Regions from separate parts of the Homo sapiens genome. Here region 2 is linked to region 1. The links are contacts of gene promoters, found by promoter capture Hi-C in blood cells and fetal thymus (Javierre and others, 2016). All regions are on one chromosome and are shown on one strand. Each heading gives the region's core, a stretch centred on a gene start or on the middle of the fragment in contact. The rest is flanking DNA. Distances are from core to core; before and after follow the strand shown.

Evidence for each region. Contacts are between HindIII fragments. The CHiCAGO score rates a contact against its expected background, and 5 or more counts as called.
Region 2: a contact is called between a fragment that was not itself captured here and the fragment with the promoter of HNRNPA3 in region 1, in 1 of 17 cell types (fetal thymus). The highest score is 5.4, in fetal thymus.

Annotation. Positions count from the first base shown.
Region 1 is chr2:177,211,354-177,214,053 of GRCh38, forward strand. HNRNPA3 (heterogeneous nuclear ribonucleoprotein A3) reads left to right here and starts at 1,441. Exons shown (of 11, transcript NM_194247.4): 1 at 1,441-1,518. The coding sequence starts at 1,447. It overlaps MIR4444-1 (microRNA 4444-1), which reads left to right and starts at 1,373; the gene lies at 1,373-1,446. It overlaps LOC105373759 (a long non-coding RNA gene), which reads right to left and starts at 1,058. Exons shown (of 1, transcript NR_157853.1): 1 at 42-1,058. RefSeq lists a silencer at 1,079-1,868 and an enhancer at 1,408-2,079. The HindIII fragment of the contact is 9,993 bases long and covers 1-2,700 here.
Region 2 is chr2:177,723,353-177,726,052 of GRCh38, forward strand. The region is part of intron 12 of PDE11A (phosphodiesterase 11A); the gene reads right to left. Among named protein-coding and RNA genes, the nearest start is that of PDE11A-AS1, 51 kb to the left of the region's middle. The HindIII fragment of the contact is 1,097 bases long and covers 841-1,937 here.

The DNA.
Region 1 (2,700 bases), core at 191-2,690:
AAGAAAGTTTGCGAAAAAGGAATCAAAGCAACAGGAGGAGTCTGGTTTGAACGGTTATTTCAACCAAATTACATTAAGGACTGCTAACTGTTTTCTGCCCCACAAAAATACCCTTTGTAAATGTTTCCAAACTATAACACAGGTCCTCCTGGAGCAACGGCTAGATAAATTAACAAACTTTTAGACTTTACGCTCCCCTTTTCCAAACTCCAAGTCGACCACTCCCCATTTGTTAACAGAAACTTACTATAACTGATTAGATTTCTAACCTTTCCTAGGGAGAGCCAGTTCAATTCTAAAAGGGTTGGTCACATGGGTTGCTAAATTAAAATATAAAGCATTTCCTAACAGGGAAGGGAGGCTGGTCAATTGTGGTTATTTTTATCAGTAACTTTAAATATGGATCCATAGATTATCAATTTATGGCTGTCGTGGGTGTTAGAAGATGACCTAATCCCATCCCCATTTTCATTTAAAAAACTGAAACTAAAGCTCTGTAAAATCAAATGATTTAAAATCATCTGACTAGGCCGAGAAAGGATTAGCTCTCTAGAGCATTACGGTAACAATCATTCGCAAACAGGTAGCATTATCTGGCGACCCTGCTTTTCTGGAAATCTTGTCAATTATTCAGTTCCTTAAATTCCGTCAGCTACAACAGATGCATCAGCTCTTTCCACACTAACTTGAAAGAAGCACATTAGAAAATAGTCCTGACTTGTTTCTTGAGATCAGTAACTAATGAACTGACCTCCACCAGTCCTGCCTCAGGTCGTTAATGGTAAAAATTCTGTATGTCAGCCGCGTTTTGAGGCCTGTCCAAGGTGCTTGTGAGTCCCACATGTTGGAGTCGCAGGGCTTTTCAGTACATGCCCTCAGGCAGGCGGCGCAGTCACAGACACTGGTCCCCGGCATTTGGAAACAGGAAAGATGGTCCGAGGGGCCGAGGAGTTTTTCTTGCAACCTTTAAATTACAAGCAAGAAAAACGTGGGTTTTATTTCGGGCACAGGAATAGAATGAATTCTGAAATGGAGAACTAGAGGCCTGCGTGGGGAATGAGGGACAAGCGCGAGAAGAAAGGGAAAGGCCTTTCTCTCTGGTGACGCGCGATCACAAGGCGTTCCCTCTACGTGGACGCTCACCATTGGCGGAGACCGCACTGACGTCCCGGAACTCGCCCTGACGCGAACGGCGGCAAAGGCCCTCTTCCCCTGAAAGCTGGCGAGGCGCGCGCGCTCCCGCGGCACGCCGCGCCTCCGCCCTCCGCCCGCCAACCCGCTGGTCCAGTCCCTCTTCGCGCCCGCTTGGCTCCGCCCCCTTCCCAATTCGCTCCTCCCCCAACAGACTGGCGGCGCGCGGAAAACGCGTCACGTGACGACTGGCCCCGCCTCTTCCTCTCGGTCCCATATTGAACTCGAGTTGGAAGAGGCGAGTCCGGTCTCAAAATGGAGGTAAAACCGCCGCCCGGTCGCCCCCAGCCCGACTCCGGCCGTCGCCGTCGCCGCCGGGGGGAGGAGGTATTAGGGGGAGAGCGGGGGGTTGGTGGGGAATGGCCGGCGTTGGGGGCCTGGTTCGGTGGGAGCGGGGAGGCCGGGTGGACCGGGTCGGCCGTCCCGCGCTCTTGCGTTGAGACAGGCTGTGGGAGGGGGAGGGGAGCGAGAGTTGGAGACCTCCTTGGGGCCCCTCGCCCGCCTCGCCTTCACCTTCGGCTGCACAGGCGGCCCCTTGGAGGCGCGGCTTGGTCGGGGAGGCCTCGGGAGGGAAGCCGGCCTGCCGGCTGCGCGGCCTCCGAAGCGAGGCCGAGGGCGGCATGGCGGGCCCCGGCGGGAGCGGTTGGGAGGAGGTGGTGGGGGAGGGGAGGGGACGAGCAGGCACATCCGGGCGAGCGAGCAAGCGGGCGGCGGCCACATTGACATTGATCCGCCGCCGCGTTACGAAATGGCGCATTGGCCCGCAATGGCCGCCGCCTCGCTCTGCCGCCGGGAAAGCGAGCCTGGGATTGGAGGGAAGAGGGCGGAGGCGGCCCGGCAGAAAAAGCCGCAAATGGCCTCGAAGCATGGGGAGGTAGTGCTTTCGCTGAAGTTCTGCCGACGCTTTTCTAGGCCTTTTACGGGTCCTCTCCGCGAGAAGTCGATAATTGGCCTTTTCTTTTTTTCGCAGCATCCTGTTGGAAATACGAGATTGTTAAAAACTTTGCTGCTTTAAAATACTTCCTGATATATTTTTGCTAAAGTACTTACATTACACTTCTTAAACCGCCATGTGGGCGAAGGACTTAATTTTTGAGAATTTGAGTGTAGATGTGAAAAACAACCCAGCCAGCTCCTTCCCGGCTCCGGCCGCTGAGGAGGGTGGGTGGAGAAGAATTTGAGTATAGTATGTTAAGGAAGAATTTAGAAATGTTTTTTATCTTCATGTTTTCCCATTCTTTGAGTCGGCTCTGGTTGTAGTTTCCTGGAATTTTATTTAGAGGACTGCAACCAGAGTTGAAATTTTCACGTTTTTGCAGTACATTTAATGTGGATCCTAAATATTTTTGTCGATTTCGTTATTGTCAATCGAATACATTTATCCAAGACTTGAAAAGATGAGATTACATGAATTAATGCTTTAGGCTATTAACGTTTTTTTCTAGCATGTGACAATCTCTTCACATTAAACGGTTTAACATCTCTACCTCTAGGAGACACAGGAAGACA
Region 2 (2,700 bases), core at 139-2,638, 510 kb after region 1:
CCCCCAGTAAATGTCAGGGGGTGTCAATGTGTTTGCTGTGATACTTGGTTATTATTAGTGTTTAACTGCAATTCCCCACCAGCGCCACGCTGCCTGCACCACCATAAATTTTAATGTGATCATGTGCTCTTCTCTTTTCATATCCAGTGAATTCTGCAAGATCATAATATTCTATATGAACCCTAGCTGAACCTTAGTGTGATATGAAGAAAGAACAAGATTTCAAGCAATAATAGTTGTTCACCATTTTATAGCTTTTTTTAACTGGACACTGAGCAACATGGTTCCTTGAATAATATTACCCTAAACTAAATTCACTCATTCAATTAATCTTTATTGATACCCTACAGGATGCAGGGCATGGCTCAAAGTGCTAATGAGTACATTTATGGGATAGTAAAGAATACTGACTCTTAAAGAAATCTTTTTTTTTCCCCTTGGAAAATCTGTCAGAGCTCATACATCATTTATAAAACCGAAAAAAATGTCTCTGCAACCTTGGCACCACTACATGCCTTTTATTTTACAGAATACAAACAAAAGCAGAGTCATTTCCGATATCTAGTCTACATCGTGAATATAAGAAATATGTCCCTCATCTTTTATCATGTATTTATAGTTATAATTTATTTATTATGTATGTGCATGATGGAATATTTGTTCTATAAACTTCTATTAGTAAAGAAAATTTATATGATGATCATTCATCTGCAGGTTTTCTTCCTCATTTTAACCACAAATAATAACTGTCACTACCTACTGTATTTGTCAGAGGAATTCAAAGTATTTGGGAAATTTTAACTATCTAAATATCTTTTTAAAAACAAAGAATAACATTGAAGCTTTCAAATTTATAAATGTGAAATTTCAGACCAGAGGCATGGAACAAATTAATAAGTCATTAACAGGGTTCCCAGTGAATAAAATGTTCATCATTTTATATCAATTTGCCTGTCCTACACAGTAGTTCTTTTTTTTTTTAATTTCTAAAGGAACAAAACCGCTTTGTTACCTACACATGAACCTGAATACTTTTGCAAAACACAATGCTGAGTCAATAAGTTTATTTTCCACCCGTGAAGTGATTTTAGGGTTAAAGGTTAGGAAGCTGGGGCATATATTTATAATTTGCTTGTCCTGTTGTACGTGGTGCCAAAATTTGTTCAGCAGTGACACACAACTATGCATTTCCCCATTCCCAGAGACAATAGGCTTGGAAAAATACACAATCACAGATTTAAGGTCACACGGAGAACACTATTATTCACTTTAACAGCACGGTATGCAAGGTGGCAGTCATAAAACAGGCCCATCCTGATGGGAGATGCTCTTTTCCGACAGACTGGTTTTGTTGCTATCTCTTTTAGGAAAAACATTTATTTTGTGGTGGGGTGTGTACCTCAGTATTCCCTGTGCTAGAAGAAAAGAAGCACTTTCAAGGAAGGTGGGTAAGGTTTTTTCCCCCTTTTCTGGAAACCAGCTGAGAAACTTTGCCTTGGAGCGCCATCTAGAGGAAGCCTCAGCACACACACGCTGTGCTTTCTTAGCCTTATGACATGACCCAGGTTGAATCCAATGGTTGGTACATGGTGAGTTTCTTTTCTTTTCTTTCTTTTTTCCCCCCAGATTAATAGAGAATTTTGGTTCTAACACAACCCACAGACAGGAAATATGAGATCACTGGAATGGAATTTTAATCACTGATAAGATCAAAACATTGAAAGGCTTTTAGAATCTTCAGGAGTGCCAAAAGCATGAGTGCCCATTGGTGGTAAGAAATAGGGCATCATTTTACCATAGGCCGAGTCACATTCCAGAGATGAGAATTGATGAGCGAGTTAAATTTATTTTTAGCTACACTGATTGAGTCGTCTTTGTTACTTCTGTAATTATTTTCTTAATTAAAAAATTCTGATTAACCAGATTGACCAGAGTCAAGCTTGGAGAAGATACTTACGTTAGAGAGAAACAAATGTTGACACTTTTAACTGACTGTAACCCTTAGTTAAGTTCAACAAAATTTAATGAGCAGAAAATACTATCTTTTCCAGATGTGGCTACTCAATACAATGTGAAGGAGAACAAAATAACGTTGTATTCTTTCTGAAGTCATGTTTTTGTTTTGTGATCTCCTCCACCCACCCTCCTTAGAGAAATTTGACAATGAAGTCTCCTCTTTCTGTGTTAGCATGAATGCAAAAAAACAAAACCTAAGCCTTCTCCAACAATGCTGCTCTTCAAGATTGCTGAGCATACTTGCAAAAACAACTGTACCCTGGAAATATTCTGACGATATGAGCATCCCCATTGTGGTGACATAGTTTAAGAATTCTATTCTCTTCAATTTCTTGGAAAGGATCAAAATTGCCCATATAATGGAAATACCCACTGCAGAAAACTGGATATATATTTCCTTTTGCTCCTAAGTGTCCACTGTGACCCTGCTGCTCTTGCCAGTTTCCCCTATTCCAACTATTTTAAGGTTTGTTATAAAAATCTGTCTCTGTCCTTGACATTTCTAACTCAAAAATGTCACAGCCATTTCTTTTTCCTTCATTGAACAGGGTTCCTACTTACTTATTTTGGCAATTCGCATAAATCCATAGGTTTTCCCAAATAATGGGTTAAAAAGTTTTTTATTGAATGTCCTCTGTGGGCCAGACATATGAAATCTGTACACAAAACATTATACCTTGTTTA